Regions from separate parts of the Homo sapiens genome. Here all the other regions are linked to region 1. The links are contacts of gene promoters, found by promoter capture Hi-C in blood cells and fetal thymus (Javierre and others, 2016). All regions are on one chromosome and are shown on one strand. Each heading gives the region's core, a stretch centred on a gene start or on the middle of the fragment in contact. The rest is flanking DNA. Distances are from core to core; before and after follow the strand shown. Region 1 holds the start of PLXND1 (plexin D1). Region 2 overlaps TMCC1 (transmembrane and coiled-coil domain family 1). Region 3 overlaps TMCC1 (transmembrane and coiled-coil domain family 1). Region 4 overlaps TMCC1 (transmembrane and coiled-coil domain family 1).

The links. Contacts are between HindIII fragments. The CHiCAGO score rates a contact against its expected background, and 5 or more counts as called.
Region 2: a contact is called between a fragment that was not itself captured here and the fragment with the promoter of PLXND1 in region 1, in 4 of 17 cell types (M2 macrophages, M0 macrophages, endothelial precursors and 1 more). The highest score is 7.9, in M2 macrophages.
Region 3: a fragment that was not itself captured here is called in contact with the fragment with the promoter of PLXND1 in region 1 in 5 of 17 cell types (M2 macrophages, M0 macrophages, M1 macrophages and 2 more); the score reaches 18.1 in M2 macrophages.
Region 4: a contact is called between a fragment that was not itself captured here and the fragment with the promoter of PLXND1 in region 1, in 5 of 17 cell types (M2 macrophages, M1 macrophages, M0 macrophages and 2 more). The highest score is 9.7, in M2 macrophages.

The regions. Positions count from the first base shown.
Region 1 is chr3:129,605,034-129,608,184 of GRCh38, reverse strand. It overlaps PLXND1 (plexin D1), which reads left to right and starts at 1,509. Exons shown (of 36, transcript NM_015103.3): 1 at 1,509-2,856. The coding sequence starts at 1,546. RefSeq lists enhancers at 1-287, 288-1,280, 2,273-3,151 and silencers at 1,181-1,340, 1,491-1,550. The HindIII fragment of the contact is 18,333 bases long and covers 1-3,151 here.
Region 2 is chr3:129,791,838-129,795,071 of GRCh38, reverse strand. All of the region lies in intron 4 of TMCC1 (transmembrane and coiled-coil domain family 1), which reads left to right. Among named protein-coding and RNA genes, the nearest start is that of TMCC1, 100 kb to the left of the region's middle. RefSeq lists an enhancer at 1-769. The HindIII fragment of the contact is 693 bases long and covers 915-1,607 here.
Region 3 is chr3:129,835,312-129,838,432 of GRCh38, reverse strand. The region is part of intron 2 of TMCC1 (transmembrane and coiled-coil domain family 1); the gene reads left to right. Among named protein-coding and RNA genes, the nearest start is that of TMCC1, 57 kb to the left of the region's middle. The HindIII fragment of the contact is 3,955 bases long and covers 1-3,121 here.
Region 4 is chr3:129,809,609-129,812,584 of GRCh38, reverse strand. All of the region lies in intron 4 of TMCC1 (transmembrane and coiled-coil domain family 1), which reads left to right. Among named protein-coding and RNA genes, the nearest start is that of TMCC1, 83 kb to the left of the region's middle. The HindIII fragment of the contact is 375 bases long and covers 1,493-1,867 here.

The sequences.
Region 1 (3,151 bases), core at 260-2,759:
CCCGCTACTCTCAGAGTGAGGCCCACCGGGCACCCTGTGGAAGCTGGGGGTCTGATGGGAGGCCCCGTTCTGAGAGGTCGGAGCTGAAGGGCTTTTGCTTTCAAACACTGTAGCTCTGCTCCTCATGAGCTGTGCATCTTGGGCCAGTCCCTTCCCCTCAGCCTTGGTTTCCATATCTGGAAGATGGGTTACCAATAGCGCTCGCCTCGGGGGAATCTGTGAGGAAAAAGAGAGCCCGTACATGGCAAGTGCTTGGCACAGTGTCTGGCACGGGCTAGCCCTGTGTGAGCACCCCCGCAAAACAGCCACGGCGCATGGTCCTCACAGGGCTGTGACCTTGGAACCAGGCTGCCTGCCCCTAACGCTGCTTTTGAGATCAAGAACCCTGCCCAGTGCCGGCTTTTGTGGGACTAATCTTCCACTAAGCCTGGGAGGATGTCAGGGAAAGTGCCTGGCGGGGGTGCCAGGGGTGGGGGTGCGGCTGGGTCTCCACAGGAGGCAACTGTGGGCTCCAGGACCAAGGCCTTGCTCTGGCTATCGGTTGTGGGCCACTGGCTGGAACTATTTCCTCTCTCCATGTTTTCCTCATTTATATATCTGACCCTGAGCACTGGTCCCTCTGGCCCTGCCACTTGTAAATCCCTTTTATGGGTCTGGGGTTTGGGGGACAGATTATGGGGTCTGGGGGGCCCGACTGGCCGGCACCGGGGGAGCGAAGGCCTGGACAGTGCCTGAGAAAGGTGGTGGAGGGAGGCTGAGTGTGGAGGGGAGACACAGGGTTCGGGAAGGCAGAGGGAGAAGGAAAGGGGAGCTCAGAGGGACCGAGAGAGGGACGGAGGGTCCGAGGGGGAGGCAGAGGGAGCCACGGAGAGAGGGAGCGAGCGTCAGGGACGGAAAAACGGAGCAGGAGAGAGAAGGAGACTAGAAAGGGCCGGGGGCGGGGCTGCCAGGGACTGGAGAGCGAAGCGGAGTCGGAGGGAGAAGGAGAAGCAGAGGCAGAACCCGGAGAAGCGCCACACGCGCGGAGTTTGGGGTGGGGACAGAGACGGAGAGACGCAGAGACCGAGAGACGCAGAGAGAGGGAGAGACGGGGTGGGGGAGAGGGCGGAAAAGAGAAAACAGGCGCGAGCGAGGCAGGCCAAGCGGCCAAGTGGGAGGAAAGAGCGAGGAGAGCGAGCGACGGCGGCGGCGGCTACGGGGAGGGACCCTGGGGCCGCGGGCGGGTCCTGGAGGGCGCGGGCGGCGGGACCCGCGGACGGCGGGGCGTGGCCCAGGGCGGCCAGGGGCAGGCGGGGGTCCCGGGGGCGGGCGGGGCCGGGGCGGGGAGTGAGGGCGTGTCCGCAGCGGAGCCGCCCCCGCCCCGCCCCCGGGCTGCGCGGCGAGGCTGACCCGGGCCCGGGCGCCGGGGTCGGGGGCGGCTGGCGCGGGCAGGAAGCGCATCGCGGCCCGGGCCCGCCCCCCGCCTCCCGCCGCCTCCGGGCTCCCGGCTCCCGGCCGCGCCTCGCCCCATGCACTCGCCGCGCCGCGCAGCCCGCGCACGCCCGGATGGCTCCTCGCGCCGCGGGCGGCGCACCCCTTAGCGCCCGGGCCGCCGCCGCCAGCCCCCCGCCGTTCCAGACGCCGCCGCGGTGCCCGGTGCCGCTGCTGTTGCTGCTGCTCCTGGGGGCGGCGCGGGCCGGCGCCCTGGAGATCCAGCGTCGGTTCCCCTCGCCCACGCCCACCAACAACTTCGCCCTGGACGGCGCGGCGGGGACCGTGTACCTGGCGGCCGTCAACCGCCTCTATCAGCTGTCGGGCGCCAACCTGAGCCTGGAGGCCGAGGCGGCCGTGGGCCCGGTGCCCGACAGCCCGCTGTGTCACGCTCCGCAGCTGCCGCAGGCCTCGTGCGAGCACCCGCGGCGCCTCACGGACAACTACAACAAGATCCTGCAGCTGGACCCCGGCCAGGGCCTGGTAGTCGTGTGCGGGTCCATCTACCAGGGCTTCTGCCAGCTGCGGCGCCGGGGCAACATCTCGGCCGTGGCCGTGCGCTTCCCGCCCGCCGCGCCGCCCGCCGAGCCCGTCACGGTGTTCCCCAGCATGCTGAACGTGGCGGCCAACCACCCGAACGCGTCCACCGTGGGGCTAGTTCTGCCTCCCGCCGCGGGCGCGGGGGGCAGCCGCCTGCTCGTGGGCGCCACGTACACCGGTTACGGCAGCTCCTTCTTCCCGCGCAACCGCAGCCTGGAGGACCACCGCTTCGAGAACACGCCCGAGATCGCCATCCGCTCCCTGGACACGCGCGGCGACCTGGCCAAGCTCTTCACCTTCGACCTCAACCCCTCCGACGACAACATCCTCAAGATCAAGCAGGGCGCCAAGGAGCAGCACAAGCTGGGCTTCGTGAGCGCCTTCCTGCACCCGTCCGACCCGCCGCCGGGTGCACAGTCCTACGCGTACCTGGCGCTCAACAGCGAGGCGCGCGCGGGCGACAAGGAGAGCCAGGCGCGGAGCCTGCTGGCGCGCATCTGCCTGCCCCACGGCGCCGGCGGCGACGCCAAGAAGCTCACCGAGTCCTACATCCAGTTGGGCTTGCAGTGCGCGGGCGGCGCGGGCCGCGGCGACCTCTACAGCCGCCTGGTGTCGGTCTTCCCAGCCCGGGAGCGGCTCTTTGCTGTCTTCGAGCGGCCCCAGGGGTCCCCCGCGGCCCGCGCTGCTCCGGCCGCACTCTGCGCCTTCCGCTTCGCCGACGTGCGAGCCGCCATCCGAGCTGCGCGCACCGCCTGCTTCGTGGAACCGGCGCCCGACGTGGTGGCGGTGCTCGACAGCGTGGTGCAGGGCACGGGACCGGCCTGTGAGCGCAAGCTCAACATCCAGGTACACCCGGGCGGTGGCGGCGGCGGCGGCGGCGGCGGCGGCGGGGGCGGGGGCGGGGGCGGGCGGGAACCGAGCGGGTCGTGAGCTGAGTGGGTCACAGGTGGGAGCGCGCAGAGATCCAGATGTACGTGGAACCCAGGTGTGCACGCGAGAATACAGGTGTCCCCCGAGGGGTACTACTGGCGCCTGTATGGCCCAGGTGGGCATGTGCAGGGACTCAAGTGAGTGCCGGCTCATGGGCGCGCATACCTAGGCGTACTGGGAGGGGTCCAAGTTGCCACAGGTACCCAGGTGC
Region 2 (3,234 bases), core at 12-2,511, 190 kb before region 1:
GGCAGGACCCCTCCCTGTGAATAAGAGGAAAGGCTTGGCCAATTATGCTAGACAAAGCCGCACAGCTGCCGAGCCCAGCTGGGAGGAGTTTCCTTCTTGAGCAGGGAGCTGGTACAGCCAGGGGCTTGCTTTTCACCACCTCCTTTTTTTTCACACTGCCTCACCTTAAAGGATTACCTAAGGTGGAGGTAGAGAAGGGTGCGTTGCTGTCTGCAGTGGACACTCTCTGCTGCTGGGACGGCTGAAGAGGGGAGGAATTGGTGCAGTTGCCTGTCTCCTACTTGGAGCAGATGCTGTCTGACCCCAGCACACCACTCCTCCTCCCACAGAGACCGGAACATCAGGTCTGTCCTCTGGAGTTTCAGGTAGCACCACAGCGGCATCCTCGCCTACTGGTCTGGTGGAAAGGGAAGGGGTGGTCCTTGTGTTTGGACCCCTCACAGCTGACTCACAGGAAGTGCTAGAAGAGCTTGGCACTGGGCACAGCGGCTTCAGGATTACTGCCCCACCCACCCTGCCCTCTCCCACGTAGGTTTTCCAGTATCTCTTGATAGAACAATGAAGGCTTTCCAAGTTTGCTAAGACTCCCAGGGAAATTCTTTGCACTTCTCTGGCAGTCTTCAAAATGTTCTGCCACCGACTTTCCCAAGAAGCTGTTATTTAAAAAACCCTTCGTGGATTGCTTTGTCTGAAGATCCTCTGGGTGATCATGGTTCAGCGCTTTAGCCTCAGGAGGCAGCTATCCAAGGTGGGTTGGTAGTTTTCTATGTTTGTGGAGGGGAAACTCTCACTTGCTTCAGCATGGTTCCTTTTTCTCTGGAACTGTTCTGTCAAGCCTGCCGTCCTCCAGCGCTAAGGAGGGGCTGAGGGAGGAAGCACTGCCTTTTGTTCTTTTATCTGACAGGCACAAAGCTTGAAGGCTGACTGCACTGGCAGCCCCAGATTGTGTTCCCCTAAAACTGCAGCTGTCATCTGAATTTGGGCAAAGTTGTAGTTTGCTCCTGAGATAGAATTTCCAGAAGGGTGTGTGTGAAAGAGATAATTGTGGGTTGAAAGTGTATATTTAATAAGCAATTAATCTGTCAGCTTGTGGACCAAGAGGAGAAAGCCTTCTTCTCTGTGGAATCAGTGCTTTCATACATTTCACTATTAAACTGAGAAAAACTACCACAAAATAGTTTAATGAGCAAGACTGGCATTAAAATGTTAAAATGAGTGGTTGTGTTGAGAAACTTGAATACTTAATGAAGTATATGAAAAGCAGTTACAGAGAGGCTCACAAAGCAGTTTTTACAGAGTTCTGATGAAAAGCAGGTTCCATGTGTGCAGCTTTTGGGGAAAAGTTTTTTTAACCTGAGAAAATCATACTTAAAATAGTAAAAAGGTGAAGCACGCATTTAAGAGGGGATGGTGATTTATGAAATCCACTCTGCCTGTAGCCAGCCCTCCTTGACCCAGTCATTTAGTGCAGAAACTAATATGGAAAGAGGTGTGGTAAGAGTTGAGCTTTATTTCAAAACCCATTGTGTTCTTTAAAAGCTCCATTTAAAAAATGTAGCAGTTGGTGGCTCAGTTGTGTCACAGTTCATTCCCTGAATACAGAAGCTTAAACAAATAGTAAGTCTGTAGGCATTCTTCACTGCCTTGGCTGTTAATCAGAATTGTTAGATCCTGAAATGTATTGTGATCTTAAGGGAAAACCTTTAGTTCCCTCACAGGTGACCCCAGTGTAGAGTGTGTGCACTGATGCAGAAATGAGCAAAGTGCTTGCTTCCATCCCTGTGTCACATATGCATAGTTTTTCTTGGGACTTCTAAGCCTAACGGGATTTTTAGGAGTATTAAAATATATTTAACTTGCTCCCTTCCCCCCTGCTCCATGGTGTGTGTGTGTGTGTGTGTGTGTTTGAAGGCCTCCACATTTCTCTTACACAATAAAAAGAATCATTTTTGTTGCTCTTTCAATGTCCTCCAGTGCTTGTATTTTCATATATATAGTACATTTAAAAAGCAGATGGGTAGATATCAGGGCAGTGACGTTCCTGCACAAGAGTGTCTGATAGTTGAGAGCCAGGTGATAATTTTCTAATTAGAAGGTAACTATATTATGGGTATTTTGCTGCCAGTACTTCTCTCCCAATTATTTTTTAAACTTTACCCTCTTCACTCTATACTATGTATATGACTGATTTACAAAAAGTACACTTTTGAAGGAATGGGATGCATCCTCTCTTTAGGTACATTACATAAAAACACTCAAAGATGTAGCCTTTTTTCATTCCTTTTCCTGGTACCCTTATTGCTCATTTGAATGTGATTTATGGATCCTATAATGGATGATCTAGACCAAAGCTAAGGAAATTTGTTGTCTATCAGATTTACTGTTCTATCAGAGTAATGAACTGAAAAAATATTTTTAATTATTTCAGTCTGTAAGGCACTTAAATATGAAGGAGAAACCGAATAGTTATGTTAGTGAGTTTAAAAAACAAACTCAGCAAATGGATCAGCGTGGCCAACATAGTGAAACCTCATCTCTACTAAAAATATAAAAATAAACCGGGCATGGTGGTGCGTGCCTGTGGTCCCAGCTACTTGGGAGGCTGACGACGCAGGAGAATCGCTTGAACCCAGGAGGCAGAGGCTGCAGTGAGCTGAGATCATGCCACTGCACTCCAGCCTGGGTGACAGAGCGAGACTCCGTCTTAAAAAAAAATATATCAGCAAATGCATCGTGCCTCTATTTGTCTTTTCAGCTAAATCCATAGGTTACCTGAGAGCCAGGGACCTGCCATACCCCAGTTTATGGTATTTCTGGCACATATTGAACACTCAAAATGAAATCGTTTTTTCATAGATATATATATGTGTATATATATATATGTATATATATATATACAGTTGAACAGCAATTTCAGATGTTTCCGACTTCAGTAACAAGCATTTTTGCTAATAAGTAATTTTCCACAGGAGTAGAGTTGTCTTAAGATCTGAGTTTTAAAAACAATTTCCTGTTTTAACAAAAAGAAAGTACTGATGTGACCATCTTTAAATTTCTTTAATTTCTCTTGGAAATTTTCTGAAAGAAGATATAAACGTTTGCAGTAATTTTAAGCCTAATACCCACTTTAGATGCTTTTTATGTTAAGGTTGATAGTCATGCTTACTTACACTGGATATTTTCCTTAAAATATTCAAGTGATTGTTGTAGGCTGGTAGATGTTCACATCTGAGT
Region 3 (3,121 bases), core at 47-2,546, 230 kb before region 1:
TTTTTTCTTTTTCTTTTATTTTTTGAGACAGGGTCTTGCCCTGTCATCCAGGCTGGAATGCAGTGGGACGCTCACGGCTCTTTGCAGCCTCGACCTCCAGGGCCCAAGCAGTCCTCCCAGGGCCCAGGCTTCTCAAGTAGCTGGGACCACAGGCATGTGCCATCATTCCCGGCTGATTTTTTTGTTTATTTTTAGGGATGAGGTCTCCCTATGCTGCCCAGGCTGGTCTCCTGGGCTCAAGCCATCCTCCCGCCTCAGCCTTCCAAAGTGCTGGGATTATAGGCATGAGGCACCATGCCCAGCCTGTTTTCAGAGTTTCTTATTGTTACTCTGTAGTTTAGTGTCTTATCACTAATTTCGGTAAGTTCTTGGCCATTCAAATGTTTCTTCTCTGTTGTCTCTTCTTCTGGACTTCTGCCACAGCTGTTGTATGTTCTCCAGGTGGGAAAATCTCTTTTCTCTTTATATTTCAGTTTGGGTAGTTTCTACTAGCCTATTTTCAAGTTTACTGATTCTTTTTTCAGCTGTTTCAAGTCTACTTGATAAGCCTCTCAAAGGCATTTGTCATTACTATGTCTTTATTTCTAATTTGGTTTCCACTTGATTTTTTATAATTTTCATTTATCTCTGAAATTACCTGTCTGATCTCATATGTTGTCTACCTCTTTCATTAGAGTTTTTACTGTATTAATCACGTTCTAATTTACTGTCTTGTAGTTCCAAAATTTATGTCATACGTGGGTCTGGCTCTGATAATTGCTTTGTCCCTTTGAGCTGTGTTTTTATTACTGCCTTTGCCATGCTTCATAATTTTTGTTTAAAGCTGAATGTGCTGTATATGACAGGAGATACTGAGGTATATGCTTGATATGCTTACTGAAGACTGCTAGTTTCCTGCAAGTCCTTTAGGGTGGAGATTTGTGTTAATCTGTTCAGGCATTGGGCTGTGTTTGATGTTTATTATTGCAATGGTTACTGGAGTTGACATTTATTGTTGCCATGGGAACTAGAGGCTTCAAATTTTCCCAGTAATACCTTGTTCTTGTCTTCCTGCTTGGCTTTGGGTTTTCCCTTTGTGCTGTTTCTCCGTGAGAGTCTGAGTCTTGCAGCTTTCTCAGGTGTATTCCATTGTTTTTACTCAAAGCCTGTCAGTTAGTGGAGGGTGAGGGGAGTTCTGTGATGTTCTGGTTAAGCCTCAGATTTATGCAGATAGTAGAACCTGGGTCTTGGGGGTGTGGCCTTCAGAAGACTATTCCCTTCTTTTTCCCAACTGCTATGGGGATTCAATAGTATCCTCAAGCTAAGGTTTTTTTCAGCTCTTTCCGCCTGCATTTAAGGCTATTGCTGTTTTAGAGAAACAGTGAAGATGGATAAGGGTGAAAATTGGGTGTCAGCTTCCTTTCCTTCCTCCAGCTGTAGTGGGATTCCACCAGAAATTGCTCCTTGCTGATTAAGCCTTTTGTTCCACAGGGAGATAAGGGAAATAGGCTGGTTTGGTATTGTTGCTTGCTCTTCCCTCATTAGCTCCACGGGGGTGGAGATGGAGGAGCTTTCTCTACTTCCTCTCTGCTTCCCCCTGCATTAGAGAGCCTTTTGAGGTTCCTGGAGGAAAAGCCCACAAGAGGATGGGAACTCTCCTATGATTGCAGCCCTCGAGGACTTCACACTCTGATTCTAACCTACATTCAGTCTTCAGCAGTTTGTCAGAATTTTTGGTTTAATCTTCCTATCTGCACTGGGATTCTTCCATGCTCTTGGGACTGTTTCCTTTGGTCAGAGACAAGGCTTTTAGGTGCCTGTCTAGCCTTAGCTGTTGCTCCATAAATGTTGTATTGCCTGGAGGCTGGGATAGCAGTAAACAAAAAAGGAAAAAGTGATTTCCTCCCAGCTCTTTTTGAACCTCAGGAATCCACATTGTGGTCAGAGAATATACTGTGTATTATTTCAGTTTTTTTAAAATTTGTGAGACTTGCCTTAGGGTTCAACATATGGTCAATTTTTGTAAATGATCTCTTTCTGCTTGAAAGAGTATATTTTGCAATTATTGGATGCTGTGTCATATTAATGTCTTATTTAGGTCCAGTTTGTTCATGCTATTCAAATCTATATTTCTACCCTCTCCCTTTATTTGAGTCATTTGTTCTATCACCTACTGAGAAGAATACAAAATTTATTATGATTATGGATTTTTTCTCCCACTTCTCTTTATAATTCTGCTGTTTTGCTTTATATATTTGGAGGCTATGTTATTACATGCATACAAATTTAAAATTGTTGCATCTTCCTGATAAATTATACCTTTATAGGTATTAATGGCTTTTGTGCATTGAAGTCTACTTTGAATACAATTAATACAGCTAGAGCAGCTGTGTTTCAGTTTGTTAGTATGACTTTTTCCCATACTTTGAACTATTTTCTGTAATTTTAAGTGTGATTCTTGATTAATTTTTTTTTAAAAATTGATTTTTGTCATCTGGTCCAATTACATTTAATGTAATTACTGAGTTATTTGAATTTATGTTTGACATCTTATATTTTGCTGCTTAAATATGTTTTATTTGTTCTGTAATCTTGTTCTCTCTTCTTTTTTGGATTTGAGTATTTTAATTCTTTCTCCTTTCTATTTAGTGTGTTTGTTTTCCCTCTGGAGTAACATTAGTTACCAGTTACCTGTCCACCATTCCAGAATGAAATAGTCTGTGCATATGCAGTATGTACTCACTCCTTTAAAAGTAGTAGCATGATATATACATGGTTCTGCACTTTGGATTTTTTAAATAAATACACTTTTTAAAAACATATTGCAGATTGCTTGCCGCTTTTACACTCTTGGACAGTACAAGAACCTTGGAACCCTGTGACTCCCAAGTATATGCTCTTGATTATGTATTTTTGTTCTTTATAGAAACCTCATCACACGTTATTATTGCTTTAATAATTAAATGTTGTTTGATATATCTCTCTTTCTGGATTCTAAAACAGAGTATCTGTCTCCTTGGTGATGGGTTGCTAGGTGGGGCTGGTTCAGCTAGATAATTAGGAAAAACTAAGCATATGCTAACAGATGGGAAAAGCCTGTCATTAAAATATATATATATATATATGAAAGAGTGAGAGAAAC
Region 4 (2,976 bases), core at 431-2,930, 200 kb before region 1:
TTTGTGAAATCCAGCCAGTGAAGATAAACCAGCAATAAATTTATAGCTTCTTCAATAAAATATCTTGAACAGGGGTATTAAAAGTGAAATCTCAGTACCAGAGATTTGATTTGAGTATTGTGGATGTGATTGTAGTCCTACAGAGTACCAGCTTAAGTTTCTTTGTTATAGTTGTGGTGTTCTTCTTTCCTCTTTTACATAATGCCCTGTTTTTTTCTCATTGGCTTTTTTTTTTTTTTTTTTTTTTTGAGACAGAGTCTTGCTCTGTTGCCTAGGCTGGAGTGCAGTGGCGTGATCTCACTGCACCCTCCACCTCCCAGATTCAAGTGATTCTTCTGCCTCAGCTTCCCAAGAAGCTGGGATTACAGGTGCGTGCCACCACATCTAGCTAATTTTTGCATATTTAGCAGAGATGGAGTTTCACTGTGTTGGCCAGGCTGATCTTGATTTCCTGATCTCAGGTGATTTGCCCACCTTGGCCTCCCAAAGTGCTGGGATTATAGGCATGAGCCACCACGCCCAGCCATTTCTCATTGTTAACACAAAGGTAAAAGCCCTTCTGTACTAATGAATCTAAGAGTATTGAATAGTAAGAATCACCAAAACTTGATTTCTTTCTTTCTTTTTTTTTTTTTTAAATTGAGGCAGAGTCTTGCTCTGTCACCCAGGCTGGAGTGCAGTGGCACAACCTGGGCTCACTGCAACCTCCGCCTACTGGGTTCAAGTGATTCTCCTTCCTGAGCCTCCTGAGTAGCTGGGATTACAGGCGCATGCCACCACGCCCAGCTAAGTTTTGTATTTTTAGTAGAGACAGGGTTTCGCCATGTTGGCCAGGCTGGGCTCGAACCCCTGACCTCAGGTGATCTGCCCACCTCAGCCTCCCAAAGTGCTGGGATTACAGGTATGAGCCACTGCACCTGGCCCAAAACTTGATTTCTTTTTTAAAAAAATGCATAGTCTTGCATTTATTGAAGATTTGCTGAGAAAATTCCCATCTCAGGATCACTTTTCTCAAATGGTTGGACACAGTGGCTCATGCCCCTAATCCCAGCACTTTGGGAGGCTGATGTGGGAGGATCACTGGAGCCAGGAGTTCAAGACCAGCCTGGGCAACACAGTGAGACCCCTGTCTCTACAAGAAATTTTAAAAAAAACAGCCAGGTGTGGTGGCACACACCTGTAGTCCAAGCTACTTGGGAGGCTGAGGCAGGAGGATCACTTGAGGCCAAGAGTTGAGGTTACAGGGAGCTGTTGACTGTGCCACTGCAGTCCAGTCTGGGCAACAGAGTGATATCCTATCTCTAAAAAATTAAAAATAATATATAAAATGAATGGCCATGAAAGTGAGCATCCTAATTCTGATCTATTTGTTTCTGAGCATTTCTTTGTAAGCTTAACAATGGAGTAGTGCATCAGAGTAACTGATCAATATAACCTTCCCCATGTGGATGCTCTGAGGAATACGCTTTAGAATTTTAGTGATATAGAAGCTTATTTAGAAGAACATACACAGTCTTAGGGAGCATACTCTTGGTTTATTAATTAAAAAAACTCATATGTTAAGCAGCTGTGCAAATGCACATTTAAATAACCATTTTACCATAGGATAGGACTAGAATACCTTAAACATTGTTTTCTGCCTTAAGCTCACCACAGGCTTTCCAATAACATTAAACTTGTTTCAACAGTTGTAGATGTTCAAGACACAGCTATACATTCTTCTAGGTGAAAGAACAGTATCCAGGTTTTCTGCTCCATAGAATTGTTATTTTCTATAAAAATGCAAAACACCTGAAGGAAACAATTTACCTAATTTTGTTGTTGTAAATGTGATTGCTTATGAATTGAAACATTGCTTTGATAAGCTTCCTTCCATATTCGTTGATGTCATACATTGTCTTTATATTATATAATTTGTGATGAGTTATACCATAGAATCAAGTTCAGTTTAAGCAGATAAATGCTTGTGAGATTAACATATTCTTCTTAGGAATGTTTGCCCATTGAGCCTTAAGATATAGGGTGAACTTGCTTAAGTTTCTGTACATAAAGATAAAATGCAAGCTGTTTTCTATTGTCAGGAGTTTAGCTTTATGAGAATGAGTATAAAGGTTTTGTGATCCGATTATAGTTCAGGAGGATTTAGGCCACAGTATAAATTACCTGTTTTGGTTCTGCGTACTAGTATGTGATATATGTCTCTTGATTTTTGCTTAGTTTTGTTTTGTTTTTTTTGGGAGACAGTGTCTCTCACTCTGTTGCCCAGTGGTGCAATCTTGGCTCACTGCAACCCCTGCCTCCTGGGTTTAAGTGATTCTCCCACCTCAGCCTCCCTAGTAGCTGGGACTACACGTGCCCGCCACCATGCCCAGCTAATTTTTGTATGTTTTTGTAGAAATGGGGTTTTACCATGTTGCCCAGGCTGGTCTTGAACTTGTGAGCTCAAGCCATCCACCCACCTTGGCCTCCCAAAGTGCTGGGATTACAGGTGTGAGCTACCGCATCCAGCCTGATTTTTGCTCATAGTTCTGTATCAGTATCTTTTGTTGCCTTAGGGTGCAGAGATGTGTGGATTAGTACAGAAATTCAAGACAAGTTTGACTTTCACATGTTGTTTTCATTGTTATGAGGATTTGTAGCTCTAATGTTTTTCTACATAAAATCAGTAAAACTAAATAAAATCAGGGTCCTTATTTAGATGAGTAACTTGCTTTGTCACATCAAGATTAAATGTACTGTTTTAGTGGGATTTACCTAAAAAGAGGTAAAAAAAGAATTGGCTACTACTGAAACCGGGAAAATTGTTTGCAAAATGCATTAATGTTCAGTATGGAAAATACCAAAAGCTATTCTTTTTTGCAGGATTTCAGTACTTTAACTAAATGTTTTTCTATAAATACTGTCTTTACCTCTCTCTCTCTTCTTTTGCACCCTGGAGATTTTTTTTTTCTTCCTGTCAGTTTGTATCTCTTATCA